Regions from separate parts of the Homo sapiens genome. Here region 2 is linked to region 1. The links are contacts of gene promoters, found by promoter capture Hi-C in blood cells and fetal thymus (Javierre and others, 2016). All regions are on one chromosome and are shown on one strand. Each heading gives the region's core, a stretch centred on a gene start or on the middle of the fragment in contact. The rest is flanking DNA. Distances are from core to core; before and after follow the strand shown. Region 1 holds the start of ACTR6 (actin related protein 6). Region 2 overlaps WSB2 (WD repeat and SOCS box containing 2).

Region 1 (5,574 bases), core at 900-3,399:
CACGTCTGGAATCCCAGGAAGATGGGTGGGGAGGATGGTTTGAGCCCAGGAGTTCGAGACTAGCCTGAGCAACATAGCGAGACCCCCATCTACACACACACACACACACACACACACACACACACACACACACACACACAAAAACCATTTTTTAAATTAGCCAGGCGTGGGCCTGCACCTGTGGTCCCGGATACTTGGGAGGCTCAGGTGGGAGGCTCAGGTGGGAGGATCACTTGAGCCCAGGCATGAGGCTGCAGTTAGCTGAAATCACACCACTGCACTTCAGTCTGCACAACAGAGCGAGATCCTATGGCAAAAAGAACAAATAAATAAAAATAAAATAAATGTACTAACATTTACTGAGCAGTTTAGAGTATAATTAGTTTAATCTCAACACCCCATGATATAGATACTACTGCTATCTCATTTTAGAGGACGCTGAAGGGCAGAGCGGTTAACTGATGTACCAAGGTCCTAGCAGAGTTCTAAAGGAGGCCCCTGGGGCAGAAGCCTACGGTTATGAATGCTTGGGAGGGCTGCACCGGACATCCACGGGATGCTGGGGGTGAGAAGACACTAGAGAGGGGTCAGAGGGAAGGAGCAGAGGGAGATAATGGGTCAAAGTGTCTGAGGAAGGAGACTGGGCTGGGTAGCCCCAGCCACCCGGGCCTAAGCCCAGGTGGAGGGGAGGAGATAGGAACGAGGACGGGATGTGGAGAAGTGGGGAAAGGCAGGCCGACGTTGGCAGGGTGCGAGGAGGCCTTGGAGAAAGGAGGGTGGATGGGGCAGGCCCCCAGGGGAGGCAAGGAGCGCCGACAGAAGGGCCCAGGCGCTTGCAGGGCGCGAGTTCCCACCTCAAGCACCGTGGCGGCTCCCGCGCTGCGCACCTGGAAGTGCGCAGGCTGCTCCGCCGCCTCGTCGGCGCGCTGGTAGCTGAAGCAGGCTTCTGCTATGTCCAGGTGGCCGAGGGGCAGCGGGTCGTGGGGGTTCTTGAAGTAGCAGAGGCAGCAGCGGCGCCCGTCCAACACGAACCGACGGCTGCGGTAGCCACGCAGTCGCGCTGGTTCCCGCGCGGTACCCGCCCCGGGCTCTGCAGCCTCCCCATCGCCGTCGCTGCCCTCCTCTGCCCGGGTTCCGGCCCCGGTATGGCTGCCTGCGCGCCAACCGTTTGTTCCCCGGCCCCCGCGCCTTCGCGCTGCGGCTGCTGCGCTCCCTGCCCCCGCGGTGCCCCCTTCCCGCCGCCCCGCTCCTCTCTCAGGCGCTCAAAGTGGCCTGGAATTTGTAGAACGCCCCCCTCCAAGCCCGTTGGCAGTTGTCCTAGCCCGCTGGCCCTTGCCCCCGCCCGCTGGCCGTTGCCCCCGCGACGCCCCGGAAGCCAGGTCCTGCCTCCCGCACCTGCCAAGTCCCCGCCCTGCCGGAGTCTCGCTCTGTCGCCCAGGCTGGAGTGTAGTGGAGCCATCTCGGCTCACTGCAACCTCCGCCTCCCCGGTTCAAGCAATTCTCCCGCCTCAGCCTCCCGAGTACTTGGGATTACAGGCGCCCGCCACCTCGCCCGGCTACTTTTTGTATTTTTAATAGAGACGGGGTTTCGCCGTGTTGGTCAGGCTGGTCTCAAGCTCCTGACCTCAAGTGATCTGCTTGCCTTGGTCTCCTAAAGTGCTGGGATTACAGGCGTGAGCCACCGCGTCCGGCCCAAAAGCCTTTTTTGGATGAGAAAGACTCACTCAGCTTCGTCCTGAAGAGCAAGTGGGCTGGGGAAGAGGAGAGTATGAATGTGAGTCCAAGAGCAAGTTTTGCACTTTTTTCTTCAAAGAATGTCACCGTCTGAAGAATGCGATTGGAAGACACACACACACACACACACACACACACACACGCAGCCGGTTCTCTACAGGATTAGAAAAAACTTGCGCGAATTAATCTGCGTAGTTAAAAACAAATACGAAATGAGCGAGAAAGCACATAGTAGTCAAATCTCGCCACCACATAAACAGGTTAAGTTTGGAAGCACAGCCCCTAACATTCGGTGCTGCTTAGCATCTCCGACTTCCGGCGTCCTCCGTTGCTAAGGTGACCAGAGGCGCGTCCTAACGCTCCGCCCAACAAACCATAGAGTACCGGAAAAAGCTCGAGCAGAGGGGTCGGAAAGGGAAAACAACTACGGCTGCGGTGTGGTTGGTGGTGAGATGACGACCTTAGTGCTGGATAATGGAGCTTACAACGCCAAAATCGGTTACAGCCATGAAAATGTGTCGTAAGTACTTTCTTTCTCCGAGGGACAAGATATATACGCCTAGTGGTTTCATGTGCTACGTTTCATCTCCGGACATCAATGAACTGCAGACACCCCCGCGCGGCCCTGACTTAGCCAGAGGGATTCCCTGGTTGGAGCTGGGTGGGTGATTGTGATGCTTTGAATTGAAATTGATTTTGGTTTTAGTTTTGGGCTGCGAGGCCCCGGAAGTGGGATATATGTTTTATTTCGTAACAGGAAATAGCCAAAGAAAATAGGCTTATAGAGATGCGTTCCTGACAGAAGGGTCCGTAAAGTTCATCAGCCTTTGGAAACTATGGGCACGGTGTTTGGGTGTATGCGGATTTTCCTGGGTACAAGATTATAGGTTTCATTAGATTCTCAAAGGGTTCTATGACCCTCCAAAAGTCTAAAAATCACGGTCTTAGGATCTAGAGGCTTTGAAGACTTTGGCCTACTGGCCGACCTAGTTGGTAAGGTCAATTAAACAGAAGTACTGTTAATACAATGGCATTCATAACATGTATAGTCATAAAATATATGTTTGAATAAATAAGCAAACCTAAAGACACGCCTTTCCTTTATCAAATTAACAGAGCATTAAAAAAAATTCTTTCCTTCCTCCCTCCTTTCCTTCTTTTTCATTTCTTTTGAAACAGAAATGAAAGAGGGAAATCAAACTGAGTAGGAATGTAAATTGTTACAATCTTTCTGGAAAACGTTTTGGCAATGTGTATCATTATCATTGTCACCGAGGCTGGAGTGCCGTGGTGCGATCTCAGCTCACTGCAGCCTGAATTCAAGTGATTCTCCCGCCTCAGCCTCCAGAGTAGCTGGGATTATAGGCGTGCACCACCACTCCCAGCGAATTTTTTGTATTTTTGTTAGAGACGGGGTTTCATCATGTTGGCCAGGCCGGTCTCGAGCCCCTGGCCTCAAGCAGTCTACCCGCGTTGGCCTCCCAAAGTGCTGGTATTAGGGGCGTGAGCCCTACACCCAGCTGACAAAGCAATTTTTTTTTTTTTTTTTGGAGAGGGAGTCTGGCTCTCTTGTCCAGGCTGGAGTGCAGTGGCACGATCTCGGCTCGCTGCAACCTCTGCCTCCCGGGTTCAAGCCATTCTCATGCCTCAGCCTCCCAAGTAGCTGGGACTACAGTTGCGCACCACCACGCCTGGCTAAGTTTTGTATTTTTAGTAGAGACGGGGGTTTCACCATTTTGGCCATGCTGGTCTGGAATTCCTGACCTCGTGATCTGCCTGCTTCAGCCTCCTAAAGTGCTGGGATTACAGGTGTGAGCCACCGCACCGGGCCATGACACAGCAATTCTGTTATTACCTAGAGAATTAATTAGAAGTGCTTTGTATTATTCATAGTCATCGTATACAGGCAGCCAAAAAATGGGAAGGAAGCTAAATAATCAGGAATAGCATATTGGCTAAATACACCAAAATACAACCTGAGACTGATAACAAATTCAAGCTTCTTAAAATTATGTCTTCAAAGAACATTTAAACATGTAGAGAAAATGCTGACAGTATTATAAGTGAAATAAGCAGGTGTAAAACATTTTTTTACAGTATTATCCCAGTGTCATCTCGTATACACATACAGACACATTTGTATGCATACATGTGTGTATAATTAATAATGGCTCTAGTTTGTCTTCCAAACCAGATTGTAAGCTCATGGCAAGCAGCAAGAGGCCCAGGTGGGTGGATCACGAGGTTAGGAGATCCAGAGCATCATGGCTAACACGGCGAAACCCTGTCTCTACTAAAAATACAAAAATTAGCCGGGCGTAGTGGCAGGCGCCTGTAGTCCCAGCTACCTGGGAGGCTGAGGCGGGAGAATGGCGTGGGCCTGGGAGGCGGAGCTTGCAGTGAGCCGAGATCACGCCACTGCACTCCAGCCTGGGGCGACAAAGCGAGACTCGGTCTCAAAAAAAAAAAAAAAAAGTTGCTACTTCTGTACCCTGTAGCAGCAGCAGTCTCCAACCTTTTTGGCACCAAGGACTGGTTTCGTGGAAGACAATTTTAACGTGTGGTTGGGGGTATGAGTGTGGGCGATGGTTTTGAAATGAAACTATTCTCAGGTATTAGATTCTCACAAAAAAAGTGCACAAACTATATCCCTTGCATGCACAGTTCAAAATAGGGTTCCTGCTCCTATGAGAATCTAATGCTATGGCTGATCTGACAGGAAGTGCAATTTAGGTGTTAATGCTTACGGCCCCACCCTCCTTCCCCACCCTGGTGCTCACCTCTTGCTATGAAGGCTTGGTTCCCAACAGACCACAGACAGGTACCGGACCACAAGCCCTGCGGTTGGGGATCCCTGCCCTATAGCATCTTGCTGATTGAAGATCTTTGGCTTCATGGGAACTTAATTTATTTTATTTTTTTGAGACAGAGTCTTGCTCTGTCGCCCAGGCTGGAGTGCAGTGGCACAATCTCTGCTCACTGCAACCTCCGCCTCCTGGGTTCAAGCAATTCTCCTGCCTCAGCCTCCCCAGTAGGTGGGATTACAGGCATGCACCACCATGCCCAGCTAATTTTTATATTTTTTAGTAGAGATGGGGTTTTACCATGTTGGCCAGGCTGGTCTTAAACTCCTGACCTCATGATCCGCCCGCCTCCGCCTTCCAAAGTGCTGGGATTACATGCTGTGAGCCACTGCTCCCGGCTGGAAACTTAATTTTTATGGCCATAATTTTTAACTTGTGAATCTTTTTTTTTTTTTTTTTTTTTTTGAGACGGAGTCTCGCTCTGTCGTCCAGGCTGGAATGCAGTGGCGTGATCTTGGCTCACTGCAAGCTCTGCCTCCCGGGTTCACGCCATTCTCCTGCCTCAGCCTTCCAAGTAGCTGGGACTACAGGCGCCCGCCACCAGGCTGGCTAGTTTTTTGTATTTTTAGTAGAGACAGGGTTTCACCGTGTTAGCCAGGATGGTCTCGATCTCCTGACCTCGTGATCTGCCTGTCTCGGCCTCCCAAAGTGCTGGGATTACAGGCATGAGCCACCGCGCCCGGCCTAACTTGTGAATCTTTAATCCAAATGGTATTAAGACTTTCTGTGTTAAAGCCAGAAAGACTAGGACCTTTACCAAAGCACTGGCTTTCGCCTCTGCAGTGGCGGAAGCAATACTTACCTGTAAGGATTTCTTGAGGATTATTAGAGAAAGAAAGGATCCAGTATAGAACTTGTTACATACTGAACTTTAAAAAAAAATGGGGGAGGGGCATTTTTGTGTTATTATTATTTTAAAATAGAGACAGGGCCTTGTTCTGTCCACCCAGGCTGGAATGCAGTAGTGGGATCACAG
Region 2 (6,199 bases), core at 3,321-5,820, about 18 Mb after region 1:
TGCCTGTAATCCCAGCTACTCAGAGGGCTGAGGCAGGAGAATCGCTTGAACCCGGGAGGCGGAAGGCAGAGGTTGCGGTGAGCTGAGATGGTGTCATTGCACTCCAGCCTGGGCAACAAGAGTGAAACTCTGTCTCAAAAAATAATAATAATAATAATAATAATAATAATAATTCTAGTATATGCATTTATAGGAAAATAATAACATAGGTATATCTTGTTATATAAAATAGGTGTGTGTTCCTGAAGTTTCTGTCTTTAAATAGAATGTTAATAAATCATATCAAGCCTTTGTAAAGAGACTATTCATTCTCAGAGGTTCTATGTGTAAATTTGGGTTTAATGTATTAGGTCTAGGCCAGGCACGGTGGCTCACGCCTATAATCCTAGCACTTTGGTAGGCCGAGATGGGATGATAGCTTGAGGCCAGGAGTTCAAGACCAGCCTGGTCAACATGGTAAGACTCCATCTCTTTAAAAAAAAAAAAAAAGAAAAAAGAAAGAAATATATTTTTATATATATGGTCTGAGTAAATAGCTATTTGTATAGACCCAGGTAAATCCTCCTAGAAATCTGTATGTTTGTATGTGTGACAGTTTCATTTATACAATCACATGTGTATAGCTATTTCTATAGACCCAGGGTTCTCAACTGGGGGCTAGTTTGCCCCTTAAGGACATTTGGCAGTAACATTTTTGGTTGTCACAACTGGAGTTGCTACTACTGCCATCTAGTGGGTGGAGGCCAGGGATGCTGCTCAACACTCTACAGCGCACAGGACAGCCCCCAGCAAAGAATCATCTGGCCCAAAATGTCAACAATGCCAAGGCTGAGAAACCCAGATGCAGTCAAGTATTAAATGACATTGACTGATCTAGAGAAACATTTTCAAATGACCTGGATGGCCTGGGGTAGTGGCTCATGCCTGTAATCCCAGTGCTCTGGGAGGCAGAGGTGGAAGAATTGCTTGAGACCAGGAATTCCGGATCAAATGACCAGGATGAAAATGTCTTTTTTTTTTCCATCCTGATAACATTCACAATTGGTTCACTTCCTCTACATTATCCTTTTTTTTTTTTTTTTTTTTTTTTTGAGATGGAGTCTCACTCTGTCACCCAGGCTGGACTGCAATGGCACAATCTCGGCTCACTGCAACCTCGGCCTCCTGGGTTCAAGAAATTCTTATGCCTCAGCCTTCCAAGAAGCTGGGATTACAGGCGTGCACCACCACACCCAGCTAATTTTTGTATTTTTAGTAGAGACAGGTTTTTGCTATCTTGGCCAGGCTGGTCTCAAACTCCTAGACTGAAGCAATCCGCCCACCTCGGACTCCCAAAGTGCTGGGATTACAGGTGTAAACCACCACGTCTGTTTTTTTTTTTTTAAATCTCCCAAACCAAATCCATTAGCAAGTTCTATCAAGTCTGTTTACAAAAGACTTGCCAAATCTAACCCCTCTCCATCTCTACTCTCATCTATGCAGCATCATCTCCCGCCTGGCCCAGTAGGCAACCTTCCAGCTGCTCTCCCGGCTTCCCCTCTAGCCCCGCACCATCGGTTCTCCTTGCCTCCAGAGTGGTCAGTTTCAAACACTGTTAGAATAAAACTCTAGCTCCTCACCCTGCCCTCAAAATCCAGCATAATCTGAACTTCCCTGGGCTTGTACTTCTCTCCCTGCCCCTGGCTCCAACACATTGCCCTTCTCTCTACCCTCTGCCAATGCTCAATTAGTTCTGACCCTAGGCCTTTGCACCAACCATGCCCTTCACCTGGAATGCCTCTCCTCGGCTGGCATCTACTCTTATTCAGGTCTGGCTCAAATGACAACTGCTTAGAGAACTCTTCTGACCCCTAGTCAATCTCCTTCACAACCCCTCACTTTATTTTCTTTACAGCTCTATCACCATTTGATCGCCATCTGTCTCCCCTCCACTAGGATATCAACTCCAGGGAGCAAGAACTTTGTATATTTATCCCCAGAGCTGGCAGAGTTCCTGGTGGAGGGCAGGCAGTGAGTAAATATTTGTCTAATAAATACATATGGTATAACTCTTTAAACAAAAAAGTAACATAAAGCTGGCCAGGCATGGTAGCTCATGCTTGTAATCCCAACACTTTGGGAGGCCGAGGCAGGCAGGTCACTTGGGGCCAGGAGTTCAAGACCAGCCTGGCCAACGTGGTGAAACCCCGTCTCTACTTAAAATACAAAAATTAGCCGGGCATAGTGGCGGGCGCCTGTAGTCGCAGCTACTCGGGAGGCTGAGGCAGGAGAATCACTTGAACCCGGGAGGTGCAGGTTGCAGTGAGCCAAGATTGCACCACTGTACTCCAGCCTGGGTGACAGAGCAAGACTCTGTCCCCAAAAAATAAAAAATAAATAAAGCCCCTTAAACTCTGATGATGCTTATGCCAAACATTTCACATGAAATGCTTCTTAAACACAAGCCCTACTCAGAATTCACACTCTATTTCTGTGATTTAGGGATTTAATCTCTTGCTATTTCAGGTTCAGGAATCCAGGAGCTAAAAGAAGAACAAACCCAGTGACTCCTGTCTCTTGGAGTCTGGGCCCAAACTAAACTTGGCTACACGGAGAGAAAGCCCTAATTAGTGCAGAACTTAAAAACAAAACAAACAAACAAAAACAGAGCTGGGGGTGGGGTATCTAGCTTCAACTGGTATGGTACTTGTAGATCCTTCTTGGTGAAAAGGCCTATGAATCAGGGTTTCTTTGTTTTCTCCTTTTTTTTTTGAGACAGAGTCTCACTCTGCTGCCCAGGCTGGAGTGCAGTGGCGCCATCTCGGCTCATTGCAACCTCCGCCCCCTGGGTTCAAGTGATTCTCCTGCCTCAGCCTCCCGAGTAGCTAGAATTACAGGCATGCGCCACCACACCTGGCTAATTTTTGTATTTTTAGTAGAGATGGGGTTTCACCATTTTGGCCAGGCTGGTCTCGAACTCCTGACCTCAGGTGATCTGCCCACCTCGGCCTCCCAAAGTGCTGGGATTGCAGGCGTGAGTCACCGCGTCCAGCCTCTTCTTTTTTAAACTGATAAATAAAAATTGTATATATTATGGAATATAACATGTTTTGATATATGTATACATTGTGGAATGGCTCAGTCAAGCTCATTACCATATATGCATTACCTCACATACTTATTTTTGTGTGGTGAGAACACTTAAAATCTACTCTTAGCAAATTTCAAGTATATCATATTCATATATATATTTGGGTTTTTTTTTTTTTTGAGACCCAGGCTGGGGTGCAGTGGCTGAATCACAGCTCACTGCAGCCTCAATCTCCCACCCAGATTCAAGTGATCCTCCCGCCTCAGCCTCCTGTGTATCGGGCTACGGGGGCGTACCACCACACTCAGCATTTTTTTTTTTTTTAAATTAAATTTTTAGTAGAGATGGGGGTCTGGCTATGTTGACCAAGCTGGTTTTGATCTCCTGAGCTCAAGCGATTCTCCTGCAGGCATGAGCCATTGCACCTGGCCCTGGATCAGGGTGTTCTAATTAAACAATGGGATGTGTTTGGACAATCAGGCTGAATGGAAAGGTATATATTATAAGCCTCTTCTAGGCAAAGCAGTTAGCCTTAACACAGAGATGAAAGCTATGACCCCAGCCAGCAGGAAGCTAGGTGATTTTTCCTGTATCAGGACATGTACATTAGATATTCCACCGGCCTCAAAAGCTTTCCTCAGTTGCTCCATCTTATCATTCAGGGATTGGTCCTCATGTCACCTTCTCAGAGACCATCCTGGCCTCACTATCTAAAGCGACCATACACTTTCCTTTTTTATTTTTTATTTTTTTTGAGACAGGGTCTTGCTCTGTTGCCCAGGCTGGAATGCAGTAGCACCATCACGGCTCACTGCAACCTCGACCTCCCCAGGCTCAGATGATCCTCCCATCTCAGCCTCCCCAGTAGCTGGGACTACAGGCACATTCTACCATGCACGCGCCTATAGTTCGGTATTTTTTGCAGAGATGGGGTTTTGCCATGCTGCCTAGACTGGTCTCAAACTCCTGAGCTCAAGTGATCTACCCAAGTTGGCCTCCCAAACTGCTGGGCCACTGCGCCTGGCACCATTCACTTTCCTTTAACCATTTGATTTTCTTTATAACCATCACTTAGATATTTTCTTCTTCTTTTTTTTTTTTTGAGATGGAGTTTCACTCTTGTTGCCCAGGCTGGAGTGCAATGGCGAGATCTTGGTTCACTGCAACCTCCACCTCTCCAGTTCAAGCGGTTCTCCTGCCTCAGCCTCCTGAGTAGCTGGGATTACAGGTATGCACCACCACGCCTGGTTAATTTTGTATTTTTAGTAGAGACGGAGTTTCATTATGTTGGTGAGGCTGGTCTCGAACTCCTGGCCTCAAGTGATCTGCCCGCCTCAGCCTCCCAAAGTGCTGAGATTACAGACGTGAGCCACCCCGGCGCATTTGGTTGATATTTTCTTGATTGCCTGTCATTTTTACGTATTTATTGTCTGTCTCTTTCTGAACCCACCCAAACTTGCCAGTTCACTGCTATTGGGCTACACTGTCTAATAGGGAAATCACATGTGGTTACCAACCACTTGAAATGTGGCAAGTCAGAATTCAGATGGGCTGTAAGTAAAAAATACACAACACGTTTTGAACACTTAGCACAAAAAAAAATCTAAAACATTACATTACAATTTATTTGATTACATGTAGCAGGAATATTTTAGACATGTTGTATTGAAAGAGTTTTTAAATTGTCACCTAGTTCTTTTTTCTTTTTTTTAATGTGGCTACTTGAACATTTTAAATTACATACGTGGCTCACATTAGACTTCTGTTGGTCGGGGCTGGCCTAGAGGGTGCCTGGCACATAGTAGACGTTCAACAAATATTTGCTGAATGAATAAGTGAAGTCTAACCATTGCTCTGAAGATTTCAACTGTTGCCCATTGTATTTCCTTTACAATGGGCTTTATTCCATTTGAAAATAAGTTAAAACTCTGGCCTTTTTTGTACAGTAACTTGGCAGCTCTCAACAACCCTGCCCACACCCTCAAAACGAAGTTGTCAATCTTTAGGAAAACCCCAGAACTGGAAACAGATTTCTGTTAAAAAGGCAGGCTAGCTACAGATTGCTTTCAGATTGAACTGTAAGGAGGCAATGGAAATCAAACGGAAGCTATAAAAAGATTCACATAGGATCTACACAAACAGTAGGGGCCCTTTTAAAAAGAATTCTACGGGTAACACTCACTGAAAAGAAAGCCCTTATCTAGATGGGAAGGAGAGAGAGCTGCCTTTAACTCAATGCCTGACTTCAGCAAACAAAGAAATGTCATTTCCTAAATTAAAAAGTAACACCACCCCAGGGAATACCCAGATTTCAACCTTCCCACCCACAGTAACAAGCCATCAGCAATCAGAACCCTCCAGACCAGGATGAAGCTTGAACTTGGCTGCAAGATTACCATGAAGTTCTGGAACAAATTCTGAGCCCTAGGCCTTGAACCTGCTCTGAAAATTTCTCCTAAGGAAATTACATTTAAACTCGGGTCCTTCAAGACCTGGGACTCCCGGAATCAATTCTAAATCTATCCCAAGTGGGGTTCCGAGGGAAGGTCGTTGGAGGGGAGAGGGCCAAGGCGTGCATGCGTCTTGGGGTTTTTTTCCCCTTGCATAAGAGACACACCTTTCCCACTGAGATTTTATGTTCATCTGGGCTGGCTTGAGGTATATCCAATATCCTCTGACTTCCACGCTGTCTTCTGATGGGGATGGCAGTTAACAAGAATAGAGGCAAGGTCCCCACCCATCAGTGTATCCTAAATTTGCCTGATCATACATGTCACCAGGGATCAGCGTCTCCAGTCCCGCCCCACCTCCACTGACTTAATCTCCAGTGGGAGAGGCTGGGAATAGATTGTTTCAATAGGGAACCCAGACCCCAGACCCCATTTTTACCGGGTCCCAGCCACCCTCCGAGGAAGGTACTAGGATTATCCCATTTTGCAGATCAAAACTGAGACGTGGGTGGCGGTGGTTCAGTGGCTTGTCCACTGTCACGATCACACAGCTTGTGAGGGACAGAGGTGACTCCCATCCAGACATGCAAGTGCGTCCCCTGGCACCTGGGTACCCAGGGGCACCCACCCCCTTGGGGATCTCCGTTTTAGGGCTTGGTGCCCCCCGCCCCGAGTCCCA

The links. The method cuts DNA at HindIII sites, captures the fragments that hold promoters and counts their contacts. A CHiCAGO score of 5 or more calls a contact.
Region 2: a fragment that was not itself captured here is called in contact with the fragment with the promoter of ACTR6 in region 1 in 1 of 17 cell types (non-activated CD4 T cells); the score reaches 7.6 in non-activated CD4 T cells.

What each region holds. Positions count from the first base shown.
Region 1 is chr12:100,198,666-100,204,239 of GRCh38, forward strand. ACTR6 (actin related protein 6) reads left to right here and starts at 2,150. Exons shown (of 11, transcript NM_022496.5): 1 at 2,150-2,254. The coding sequence starts at 2,187. RefSeq lists a silencer at 1,094-1,453 and enhancers at 1,946-2,240, 2,214-2,413, 3,258-3,945, 3,946-4,631, 4,263-4,322. The HindIII fragment of the contact is 11,223 bases long and covers 1-3,731 here.
Region 2 is chr12:118,054,542-118,060,740 of GRCh38, forward strand. The region is part of intron 1 of WSB2 (WD repeat and SOCS box containing 2); the gene reads right to left. Among named protein-coding and RNA genes, the nearest start is that of WSB2, 3.5 kb to the right of the region's middle. RefSeq lists a silencer at 6,048-6,097. The HindIII fragment of the contact is 1,742 bases long and covers 3,700-5,441 here.